Regions from separate parts of the Homo sapiens genome. Here all the other regions are linked to region 1. The links are contacts of gene promoters, found by promoter capture Hi-C in human tissues and cell types (Jung and others, 2019). All regions are on one chromosome and are shown on one strand. The core of a region is centred on a gene start or on the middle of the fragment in contact, and the rest is flanking DNA. Distances in the headings are between cores, read along the strand shown.

The links. The method cuts DNA at HindIII sites, captures the fragments that hold promoters and counts their contacts. A contact is called where the count stands out against the background at its distance.
Region 2: a contact is called between a fragment that was not itself captured here and the fragment with the promoter of FAM221A in region 1, in 1 of the 25 tissues and cell types used here (H1 embryonic stem cells).
Region 3: a contact is called between a fragment that was not itself captured here and the fragment with the promoter of FAM221A in region 1, in 1 of the 25 tissues and cell types used here (IMR-90 fibroblasts).

What each region holds. Positions count from the first base shown.
Region 1 is chr7:23,678,428-23,682,540 of GRCh38, reverse strand. It overlaps FAM221A (family with sequence similarity 221 member A), which reads right to left and starts at 2,342. Exons shown (of 7, transcript NM_199136.5): 1 at 2,258-2,342. The coding sequence starts at 2,322. RefSeq lists an enhancer at 1,539-1,788 and a silencer at 2,119-2,408. The HindIII fragment of the contact is 14,044 bases long and covers 1-4,113 here.
Region 2 is chr7:23,351,837-23,355,683 of GRCh38, reverse strand. The region is part of intron 5 of IGF2BP3 (insulin like growth factor 2 mRNA binding protein 3); the gene reads left to right. Among named protein-coding and RNA genes, the nearest start is that of SNORD65C, 43 kb to the left of the region's middle. RefSeq lists a silencer at 804-963. The HindIII fragment of the contact is 5,856 bases long and covers 1-3,847 here.
Region 3 is chr7:23,272,435-23,276,924 of GRCh38, reverse strand. GPNMB (glycoprotein nmb) reads right to left here. Exons shown (of 11, transcript NM_002510.3): 10 at 3,311-3,404; 11 at 1,817-2,860. The coding sequence ends at 2,701. Among named protein-coding and RNA genes, the nearest start is that of MALSU1, 25 kb to the left of the region's middle. The HindIII fragment of the contact is 7,079 bases long and covers 1-4,490 here.

The DNA.
Region 1 (4,113 bases), core at 1,093-3,592:
CTGAGAATCACTTCCACGGAGGCAGAGGTTACAGTGAGCTGAGATAGCGCCACTGCACTCCAGCCTGGGCAGCAGAGCAAGACTCTATCTAAAAAAAAAAATAATAATAATAATAATAATAATAATAAATATATATATACATACACACACACACACACACACACACACATGATAAAGCCAGATGTGGTGGCTCACACCTGTAATACCAGCACTTTGGGAGGCTGAGGTGGGAGGATTGCTTGAGGCCAGGATCTCAAGATGAGCCTGGGCATCCTAGTGAGATCCCATCTCTACAAAAAATTTTAAAATTAGCTGGGTGCGGAGATGCATGCCTGTAGTCCTAGCTAGTTAGGAGGCTGAGAAGAGAGAGTCGCTTCAGCTCAGGAGGTCAAGGTTGCAGTCAGCCATTATAGTGCCACTGCACTCCAGCCTGGGTGACAGAGCGAGACTCTAAATAATAATAATAATAATAGGTCTGCAGTGGGCCTGAGATTCTGCTTTTCTAACAAGCTAACAGGTGATGCCAGGACACTGGTCAGGGCCTCCCACAGTGTGAGTAACAAGGCTGCATGCTTCCCCTCCCAACCGACTCCCACCGAAGTACCTAGGCAAGAGCAAATCCAGGAAAACTCTTCGGAAGGAAAGTTTGTTTCCTTCTAAACTCATATTTTGACTCATCTTCCCACCCCACCTTCCCAGCCCACCTTTTCATATCTAGGTACTCAAGTCCTGTTTTCCCCACTTTTCTAAAATTCTGACGTCAGTAAAGGACCTGATAATCTCTTTCAGAGGGAAGTGTTGCAAGTTATTTACGATTGCAAAAATAATTTCCCAGCCGGGCGCGGTGGCCCAGGCCTGTAATCCCAACACTTTAGGAGGCCGAGGCAGGTGGATAGCTTGAGTCCAGGAGTTCAAGACCAGCCTGGGCAACGTGGTGAAATCCCGTCTCTACAGAAAATACAAAAATTAGCTGGCCGCCTGTAGTCCCAGCTACTCGGGAGGCTGAGGCAGGAGAATCACTTGAACCCAGGAAGCGGAGATTGCGGTGAGCCGAGATCGCGCCACTGCACTCCAGCCTGGGAAAGAGTCAGACCCCGTCTCAATAAAATAAATAACTAAATAATTTCTCAATAAAATAAATAACTACATACATAGGTCTGCCCTAACATGTTCGGAGCTAGGCAAGAGTCAACTGGAGGCCCACAATTCACATATCTAAATATCCAAGTTATCAGTCAACACCAGCTCCAGCAACTTGCTCCCAGGCAAAAGCTCTGGAGAACTGGAGGCTAAAGGAGCCGGCTCTGCTCTGGGAGAGGACGGGATGGTGGTTGTTCTGACCCTGAACCGGGCGTGGGAACTGACCCCATCAAGCTCCTAGCCCTTATTCTTCTGGCTCAGAATATCCAGGCAGTTCTAAGGGTTACCCAAAACTACACAAACAGGGCAGTCAGAGCAGGGGAGAACAGTCAGCTGGGGGGCCGTCTGCGCGCACACCTCTGGGTCATCTGGGCCACCCACGATGCCGCAGAGGAGCCCCTGTCGCTCGCTCCGGCCTCCCTGGCGGAGCCTGGAGCGTCTCCCCTCCGCTTGTACACACACATCCTCCCGCCCCAACTCCGCGTCCTCAGGCGGTCCTCTCCAGGACTTCCCATCCGCCCAGATTCCGGACGATCAAAAACCCCAGGAAGCGGAAAAAGAGCGCGTCGCTGCAGGTGCACCAGCCTCGGTCAGGATCCAGGACAATGAACCGCGTCCTCAGGCCAAAGGAGCGACTCCGTTTCCAGTTTCGGAAGGGGTTTCTCCAGAATACCAAACACCAGTCGGTGCCTTTCTCCTAAAACCAGCACCTCGGGGTGGGGAGCGCGTTCAGAAGTTCACGGTTGACTCAATTACTGGGTTAATTTGATGTATGCTAACTTCTATAGCCCCGAGTACTCGATGTGCCTGTTTTCAATGGCCATTTAAAAAACAGCTGGACCTCTGTATCAATCTAGAGTTAGTCATCCTTCTTGGAAGGGAGCAGAGGGGCCTCTTAAATGTTATTGGAAGACTCATCACTGCATAGAACCGCGTGGCCCTACAATATTTAATTAGGCAAAGACTAAACTGGAATTCATCTAGGCCTCCCCCAACAGCCCAGGCACAGATTCCGGGAACCCCCGCGGACGCCCGCCGGGCCCCTGCTCGCGCCCCCAGCCCAGGGATCCTGGCCCCTCGGAGCGGCGGGGGGGCAGGCCCGGAGCCACAGCCTCACCTCCGGTACTCCAGGTACTCGTCCACCGCCGCCGCGCCGCCGAGAGGCAACGTCAACCGCTCCATTGCCGGTGGGGAAGCCAAAGGCTTCCCTGCGGACCAGCTGACCTCGAAGCCCGACCCGCCCCGTTCCCTCCCGGTACCGCGCCCCCTCCCGCCCGCCTCCTGATTGGCCCGGCCTGAAGCCCGAGGAGGCCGCGCGCGGCAACTGCGCAGGACGCGCGCCCCTACTGGCTGCCGGCGCCAGGCACCAGAACCCGGATCTCCGCAAGCGCAGCCTCGCGCCACATGGAGTGCAGTTTGCCGCCCTCCACAAACCTTGCACCTATTCCCCTCTCCCTTCCCTGGACCGGCGAGTCTTCTTGTAAATTAACAAGTGACAAGGGAGTGCAGTGCCTTGCATATAACAGGCGCATAGAAAATGGCTTATTTCTTTGTACAGCTCTTTTCGCTTAATCCATCTCTTGAAATATAAGTAGTTTTGAGAAGGTTCTGCTTTAGTTTGAGGCCTGCCTCTCCTTAACTGTCGGCCTGTTTCCAGTATTGGCGTTTTCAAAAACTCTGATGTAACAATCAGTAGTCCTGGGTATCTGGGTTCACTTTGGGGGTTGCTAAAGCTACATGTTCTTCAAAGGAACCGAATAACTGATTTAAGGTGAAGCAAGTAAAAACAATTTAGGTGAAGTTTTGTTGTTGTTTTTTAACTTTTGGAAACACTCTGCAAAATATATTTAGAAGCTGAATTACCATGCGATTGGTAATTTGGCCATAATTTGACTTAGCACGTTGTGGAAAAGAATAGGAAATCTTCAGGCGAAGTCATTAAACTCTGAAGCTCCCAGGGGATCAGCTTTAGCGCCCTCTGTAAAGTATCTGGGAGGGAGAATATGCAAACAATAAGAAAAATAATTAAACTTCAGTACAGTACTTTAGTTTCAAAGTACTGTTCTACATATTTCAGGTCCATAAAACATTATGTAAACAAATTGTTTGGGTACCACCCACCTCCCTTCTCGGTACCCTTTCAACAAACCCCACCCTCTCCCCAAAGTCTTCCTCCTGTTCAGAGGCGTTCTTGACAGTCAGATAAATGAGTGATCCTGAAATCGGATTCATATTTTAGGAAACTGATCTCAGCTCAGTATTCTCTCCTATCACACGTGTGGTTTGCTGCTGTCCATTTTACCTCTTCCACCCGACACCTCCCAGATGGGGTCTTGCTCCGTCTCCAAGGCTGGAGTGCAGTGGCGGGATCTCGACTCACTGCAATCTCTGCCTCCTAGGTTCAAGCAATTCTCCTGCCTCAGCCTCCTGAGTAGCTGGGATTACAGGCACTAGCCACCACGCCTGGCTTTTGTGTGTGTGTGTGTGTGTGTATTTTTAGTAGAGACAGGGTTTCACCATGTTGGCCAGGCTGGTCTTGATCTCCTGACCTCGTGATTTGCCCGCCTCAGCCTCCCAAAGTGCTGGGATTACAGGCGTGAGCCACCACGCCCAGCCCCATTCTACCTCTATGAGAGCCTAGTCTTGCTTTTAGGCAGCAACTGAACTAACAAAGAAAAATAGAAGAAAATGCCAGGCTCTGCAGGCTTACAGAAAAGTGGCAGGGGAATGTCTGTGTAGGCAAGTACAATTTAAAAATCTAGAGGGAAATGGTTAAAATAGATTTAGCCCAATTGTGGACTCTTCCAGGAAGATGCTGGAGCAGTAAACTCTTCTGGCCAAAGAAGTCAACAAAAATATTGAGCGTGACGAATAAGAGTATGGAACAAACTAGAAAATGTTATCCTGACCTTACATAAAGCTGACAGATTTGCAAATTAAAATACTGTATATGGTACTCACCTCTGCTTTAAT
Region 2 (3,847 bases), core at 1,126-3,625, 330 kb after region 1:
TGGGATTACAGGCATGAGCCACTGCACCTGGCCCCAGTAAACTTCTTATCAATACATTTAAATTCTACCAACTGGCAAAATTACTCATCATCTTCTCAGCGACCCTTAAAATAGCACCAAGAGCAAAGAGTTAAGTAATGATGACAGGATCCTGGTCTGGCGCTGTGGCTCACACTTGTAATCCAAGCACTTTGGGAGGCTGAGGCAGGTAGATCACTTGAGGTCAGGAGTTCGAGACCAGCCTGACCAACATGGTGAAACCCCGTCTCTAGTTAAAAGAAAAAAAAATACAAAATTAGCTGGGTGTGGTGGTACACGCCTGTAATCCCAGCTACTTGGGAGGAGGAAGGAGAATTGCTCAAACCAAGGAGGTGGAGGTTGCAGCAGTGAGCCGAGATCGCGTCATTGCGCTCCAGCCTGGGCAAAAAAGTGAGACTCTGTCTCAAAAAAAAAAAAAATAAAAATAAAAAGACAAAACCAGGCTCCTGAGTAATATACATGTTGGATAAACATCTTTAAGTTCTGTTTAACTGAATACATATGTGTCAAATAATTATGACAGTCGTTCATCTCATGTCTTGCATCTACGGTGGGTTTGGTGAAAATACTAAAATTTTTTTTCCTCGTGAACTCAGCAGATCACCATATGACATAGATGAATAACAAACTTTGTGCCTAGAAAGATTCTAGTAGTTGACTTAAATTCAGTAATTTAGGAGCTGCAATCATGAGAAAGCCGCCATTCTGCATGTTAGGTTCCTCCTGTACCTTTTCAGCTGTGTCTGACTGTGGATGGAGCACTGTGGTTTGAGGGGTTAGGAACTCTGCTTAGATGGCAATTAGACAGTCAGGTACACACAGTAGTGGCTGTCTGCATTCTGCCTGGAACAGCCTGAGTTTGGAGCCATTGGGGCCCAGAAGGTACACTGGGGACTAGAGCCCCGGGCCACCTGACCTCTTCAGTGAGAGAATCTTTTCTTTTCCCCACAAAGAAAAATCTTTTTAAAGCAGCACAATAAAAGTTAGAAGTTAGTTTTTGCCAAGTTATAAAGTTGTTTCTTGTGATACATGTGACTATTTAGATGGTTCTAGAATATAGAAGCATCTGGTAACTGACGTGTGTACCTTTTACCCCAGGGAGAATGATATCTGTATGTGTCTATCTCACTCAAGAAGAGAGTTATCTACCATTTTTGTAACATTAATGACTTAATTTACTAGTCAAAATATACTTACTCTCTTCTGAAGCTGGCAATACGCCATTTATAATGAAAAAGCCTAGATTACCTTTTATGCCTAGATGTAATTGATGCCTTCAGTGGGTTCAAGTTTCCTGATTTTTTGAAAGAACCTTCAGTGATCTGTTTATTCCCGACTTTAAAAACATTTAAGGTCAGGTGTGGTGGCTCACTCCTGTAATCCCAGCACTTTGGGAGGCCGAGGTGGGTGGATCACCTGAGGTCAAGAGTTCAAGACCAGCCTGGCCAACATAGCAAAACCCATCTCTACTAAAAATACAAAAATTAGCTGAGGGTGGTGGCGTGCGCCTGTAATCCCAGCTACTCAGGAGGCCGAGGCAGGAGAATTGCTTGAAACCAGGAGGTGGAGGTTGCAGTGAGCCAAGATCGCACCACTGTGCTCCAGCCTGGGCAACAAGAACGAAAGTCCATTTCAAAAAAAATAAATAAATAAAGCTGTTTTGAAAGAATCTGTAGTTGGTTGACTCTTCTGCATCTCCAACTTTTTATAACAAATATACACCATAAATATTAAAATATATCAGCTGTCGTCTTCCTTTAGAAATAACCAAAATATTTTAGGTCCCTTAATCCACATTCCCTTAAGAAAAAAAGGGGACAGGAGGAAAGTACAGCGTTAACTTAACGTTCTGTCATCAAGGCATTGGCAAAATAAGTGTGGCATGTGTCAGCTATCATCCTCTGAAGCTTATGAAAAGAATGCCCTCTGACATAGAAATCACATGGAAATATCGCAAGACATTGTATTTAAAAACAAGCCACAGAGCAGTGTACATCACAACCCCAATTATGCTTTTAATGAAGGAACCGAATATGAATACATGTGTTTGTAAACATATAGAAAGGACTGGTCCATTTGTAGAAGTACTGCAGTGAGCAGCAGTTCTGGGAAGGGCCTTGGAGGGTTGGTGACGGTGCCAGAGCAACCTCTTGCTACTTTCTGCATGACTGATCTTTTACAATAAGAGTTCATTCATGTGCCAGAGAAGGTAGGACAGTGATAGAAGACTGAAGTGAGAAACCGAGAATCATTCTGGGCCGGAGAATGTCAGCGAGCCCTCTGTCTGCTTGCCCAGGTCTGCCTTCCAGGTCCTAGCCCTCAGTGACCTTTTTGGTACTAGAACTGTCACCCACTCCACCCCCTTTTTTCTATTTAAGAATTGAGAGTAGATTTGCAAATAAAGCAGTGTATAAGCCGGAAATGACCACACCAAGCAACTAGAAAGAGACCATTTTATGCCTGTTTTTCTTTCCCACCTGGGGTGAACTCAGGGCCATTGGAACAGAATCTGAGCAAAGAACCTGAGTGACACTGGGAAGTGTGGGGACTTCTTTCTTTTTGTTTTTCATTTTGTTGTGCACTGGGGAGTTAAAAAGGGATGTATTGTTAGGTGTATGTTTATGAAATCTGGGCTATTTCGTCTCTACTAGTTTATTATTTTCCCTTCTGAAAACATAACACACACACACAAAATGAATACAAAACAAAGCAAAACAAACAAACAAAAAACCCCAGAAAACAGAACACAACAATTTGGATGAATATTACAATAAATTAAAAGTTTCCAGATATGAGAAAATACATATCATGTATACTCATATATATTTACATAAAATTTTTAAATAGGCAGAATTAATCTATGGTATTAGAAGTCTGCAAGGGGTAGGGGGGCAGTGACTACCGGAAGCAGGTACTGTTGGGGCTTCCGGGGCCCTGGTGTGTTCTAGTTCTGGATCTGGATGTGTGTGTTCACCTTGTGAAAATTCACTGAAATTTATGCTCAAGATTTGGGCACTTTTCCTTGCATGTTAAAATAAAGATCAAGAATGAAAAAGAGGCTGGGTACAGTAGCTCATGCCTGTAATCCCAGCACTTTGGGAGGCCAATGCAGCAGATCACTTGAGGTCAGGAGTTGAAAACCAGCCTGGCCAACATGGTGAAACCCCATCTCTACTAAAAATACAAAAATTAGCCAAGCATGATGGTGCATGCCTATAATCCCAGTTACTTGGGAGGCTGAGGCACAAGAATCTCTTGAACCCCGGAGGCAGAGGTTGCAGTGAGCCAAGATGGCTCTATTGCGCTCCAGCCTGGGTAACAGAGCAAGACTCTGTCTCCAAAAAAAAAAAAAAAAAAAAAAAAAAATGAAAAAGAGAGAAACTCTCCCCCAAATAGTGTGGTAGAATGGGCACACTCTTTTTTTTGGTTTATCACCACCCCTGCCTCTTTGCTCCAAATCAGATCGTAAACCACAAAGTCAGGGACTGGCTCATAATAGGTACTGAGTGTGATTGGTAGAATTTAATACTCAGAATAGTCTCTTGTAAATGGTTTAGAGATATTTGTCCACTGGTTCTTAAAATGGTTTTAAATACTTCATATTTTAGAGGCTGAAGTGAAGGAAGTATATATTTCTGATGTCTCTTCCACTGTGGTTTGGAAACATTAGCCAAGGCAAGAAGCCCACTTGCTTCTCTCTTGCTGCTTAGCTATTCCTAAACCGTTAGTAACCTTATGGGTTAAACTTAACCAAGAGTTTGACAAAATGTTTTTTGTTTTTCTATTTTTCATTAGGAGATGGCACATA
Region 3 (4,490 bases), core at 1,936-4,435, 410 kb after region 1:
AGTGGTGCGATCTCAGCTCACTGCAACCTCTGCCTCCTGGGTTCAAGTGATTCTCATGCCTTAGCCTCTTGGGTAGCTGGGATTACCAGCGTGCGCCACCACACCTGGCTAATTTTTGTATTTTTAGTAGAGACGGGGTTTTTGCTGTGTTGACCAGGCTGGTCTCAAACTTCTAAGCTCAGGTGATTCACCTTCCTCGGTCTCCCAAAGTGCTGGGATTACAGGCAGGATCCACTGCGCCCTCCATGGGCCAGATAATTCTTTGTTGTGGTGGTTGTCTTGTAGATTGTAGGATGTTGGGCAACATTACTGGCCTCTAACCACGGGATGCCAGTTGTATCCCACCCTAGTTGTGACAACCACAAATGTCTCCAAACATTGCCAAATGTCCTCTAGGGGGCAAAATCACCCCTGGTTGAGAACCATGGCCCTACAGTCATCACGTAAATGGGGAGAAATCTCAATTCTTGTTCTGCAAATTTTACACTCTTTGGAAGCGATTTTAGAACAAATAGCTGTATTTTTTTTGGCCTCTAGGTCATCCAGGAAATGAAGAACCTAGACTAAATGTTAATCCCCACAATACCTTTACCATTCCTTAAGAAAATTAACAATTCTATAATATCATCTGGTATCCAGTGTGTACTCAAGTTTCCCCAGTTGTCCCACGAATATCTTTCATCACTGTTTTTTCCTCAAGCTAGGATCCAATGTAGATTCTCAAATTGCGTTTGGTTGCTGTGTCCATTTTGTCTCCATTAGTGTAAAACAGGCAAACTATGTCCCATGGGCCAAATCTGGCCTACCACCTGTTTTTGTAAATACATTTTTGCTGGAACACAGCCAGGCTCTTTTATTTATGTAATGTCTATGGTTGTTTTCACGCTACAATGAGAGAGTTGAGCAGTTGCGATCGAGACTGTGTGGCCCATAAAGCCTAAGAGATTTAGTACCCAGCCCTTTATGGAAAAAGTTTACTAAACTGTGACCTAGAATTCCACCCCCTGCCTTTATTTTTAATATGATACTGATTACTCAAAGAGTCCAGGACAATCGCTTATAGAAAATCTCTTCTTTTAGATTGATCTGATTATATACATTTACACATTAAACTTTTATTTGAAGTTTCACATATGATGTGATTGTGTGTATATACAGATATTTGAAAGATATATATATATATATCTTTTTTTTTTTTTGAGACAGAATCTGGCTCTGTTTCCTAGGCTGGAGTGCAGTGGCACCATCTCGGCTCACTGCAGCCTTGACCTCCAGGGCTGAAGTGATCCTCCCACCCCAGCCTCCTGAGTAGCTGGGACTACAGGCATGTACCATCAGGCCTGGCTAATTTTTGTATTTTTTGTAGAGACGGGGTTTCATCATGTTGCCCAGGCTGGTCTCAAACTGCTGAGCTTAAGCAGTCTGCCTGCCTCAGCCTCCCAAAGTGCTGGGATTATAGGTGTGAGCCACTGTGCTCAGCCATATATATATATATATATATATATATATATATATATATATATATATATATATGTAGTTAGGTAAAAAATATTTATGAGATTATCAATGCTCTATGAGACATTGTTAAACAACTTTTTACTTGTCAAAAACTATAAATGAAATTGAGGCTGGGTACAGTGGCTTACTCCTGTAATCCCAGCGCTTTGGGATGCTGAGGCAGGAGGATCCTTTGAGGCCAGGAGTCTGAGACCAGCTTGGACAATATAGGGAGACCCTCATCTAAAAAAAAGAAACAACTGTAAGTGAAATTGAAAAGCAAATGATGAATCAGAAAAATAATTACAATACCAAGGTCTTGTCTCTTCCCACACTTTATTTTTCAGGAAGGAGAGAAAAAGAATGTCATGTCTAACATATAGTAGATGGTTTTAGTTACAAACAGAGGTGAAATCCTTACTGATCAAGTTGCCATGAAAAACCAGGGACCTCATCTTTGGAAAGTCTTAATATATGATTTCAAATATGTGCAGCGACTGTACAAAAATTTGGAAATATACACAAGAGTGTCACTCAGCATCATGCCTGGTATATAAAAAGCACTAACTAAATGTCCATGGAATAAATGAATATATGAATATCATTCCTTCACTCAGCCAAGCAAAGTAGGTTGTCACCAAAATACTCCCACCCATTTATGAGAGTAGTATTTTTTCTGAGTCTAGCAAGTGTGCACATCATACCACAGGCTTGGGCCTGTTATTGTTCCATCAGGAGTTCATGAGTGTGTATTGAAGTGGGATTCAGTTAGCTTGGAACATGATCTTAGAAACTGGACTACATTGGCTTTATGCATACAGTTACATGGAAAGCTGAAAGTATCCCGCCTCTTCTTGCAGTTAACCTGGGTTAGGCTCTAATCAATAGTAGCTTCTCTCCTTACTCTCGGGACACAGTGTTTCTATCCTACTAGTTACCTAAGACTTTATAAGTGAAACATAAAAAATAATGAAAAGAAGCCTTGCTAAGTTGCTTTTATCAGTTTCACAACATGGCTGAAGCTGCCTGCAGTATAATCCCTCTCCCCATCTCTAAAATGACATTTAACCTATAAAAAATTCAACTTCCCCAAACCACAATATCTATTTAACAATAATCTTTAGGAAAAAAAGGTTAATAGCCACTCCAGCACATCTCACATCAATGGCACTGAAAAGTGAGCTTCAGAAACAAGGTCGAAATTTAAGAAACTCCTTTAAATTCTTGGTTTTTGAGTAGCGGATCCTTTTCCTGGTTTCCCGGGAAGAACACGGCTTTTGCACGGTTGAGAAAGACACTCAGGCCTTTGCTTCTGACCACATTCCCAGGACTATTTTCTATTGGGTTGTATTCCTTGTGTTTTCTGAAAACAATCTGTTGGTTAGTTATTTTTAAAAGATCTTCAGTTGAAATATACAACTTTCTACAATCTTTTTCATGCCAGGTATAAAAGGATTCATTCCATTTAACATGATTGACAGTTTGCAAGACACTGGTGTCTTATGAAAGTACATTTATTTACTCTTGTTCATGCAAGAAATGTGCCTGCTTACTATAATTTGAGACTATCATGTTAAAATTAAGTTGACATAATTTTGTAAAGTTACTGAGATCTGGTAGCATCTTTTAGGATTAAAAACAAACCACAACAAGATTAACAGGCCAGTTTGGTATTCACCATTCAATGTAATATTTTCCTCCCCTACACAAAATGTTTAAAAGCAAAAAAGGGAAAAATGCCTATTTACACAGAGATATATTCACTTTTGACAATACACTATAGTGATATAAAGCGTAGGAACCAAAAACTTACTTGTACACCAAGAGGGAGATCACAGTGACAAATATGGCCAAGCAGCCAACGGAGATCAGGGCACTGTTTGCCATCCTTAAAGGCGAGGCTGGGTCTTAAAACAGAAGCAAGAGCATGTTAGTTATGTCTTCCACCTAGAGGACATGCCGCTTATAATGCCATTAAATAAATGAGGAAGGGAGCCGTCACAGAAGATATATGGCTCCCTCTGGGCTTTCAGTAATCTTTTCTATTAAATAATACATAGTCTTTGGGTCAGCTTATCTTCTATTTAGAGAATGAGTCAGCATGTCTGGAACACTGTGGTAAGGGCGCGGGGGAGAGATGTCACGTCCTGGAGACACCTGCTCAGGTCTTGGGTGACCCAGCAGCGCCACCGTGTGGAAGGGCTCCTGTGATCAGGCGGCCGTGCCTCCAGCTTCCTCTCTCTCTACTTACCTTCTAGCTGTGCTAAAAATCCTGAAAGTTGGCCATACTCCCCGTGCTCTTTCAGACCTCCGTGCCCCCTTACAGGAGTGCCCTTCCCCGGCTCATGCCTGTAATACCAGCACTTTGGGAGGCAGAGGCAACATAGTGAGACCCCAGCTCTACAAAAAATTAAAAAATTAGCCTGGCATGGTGGCGCATGCCTGTGGTGCCAGCTACTCAGGAGGCAGAAGTCAAGGATTGCTTGAGCCCGGGAGGTCGAGGCTGCAGTGAGCCATGATTACCCTACTGCACTGCAGCCTGGGTGACAGAGCAAGACCTTGCCTCAAAAAAAAAAAAAAAGATCACCACCTTTAAAGTTTTCCATGTAACATCTGTCACTGCTCACAGAAGCAGGGACTTCTTTGTCTTGGTTTCTACTCGATCTAGAACTGTATCTTCTGCCTAGAACTGTGCTGAGCATGGAGTAGATGCTCAGGGATATTTGTTGAAAGAATTGCAGGTGCTTCATGAATATCCATTGAATCGATACATAAAAGTCACTTCAACTAAAGTCTATAGGTTTGCTTTGAAGAATGATCTATTTCTGAAATTCTGCCTTTGAAACCCAAGCTATTAAGCTGCAATCCCCACTGAATTAAAACCTTTCCTTCTGAGCATTCATTTTCTCTTTCTCACTCTCTCTCTCTTTCTCTCTCTCTTTTTCTCTCTCTTTCTCTCTCTCTCTCTTTCAGACAGGGTTTTGCTGTGCTGC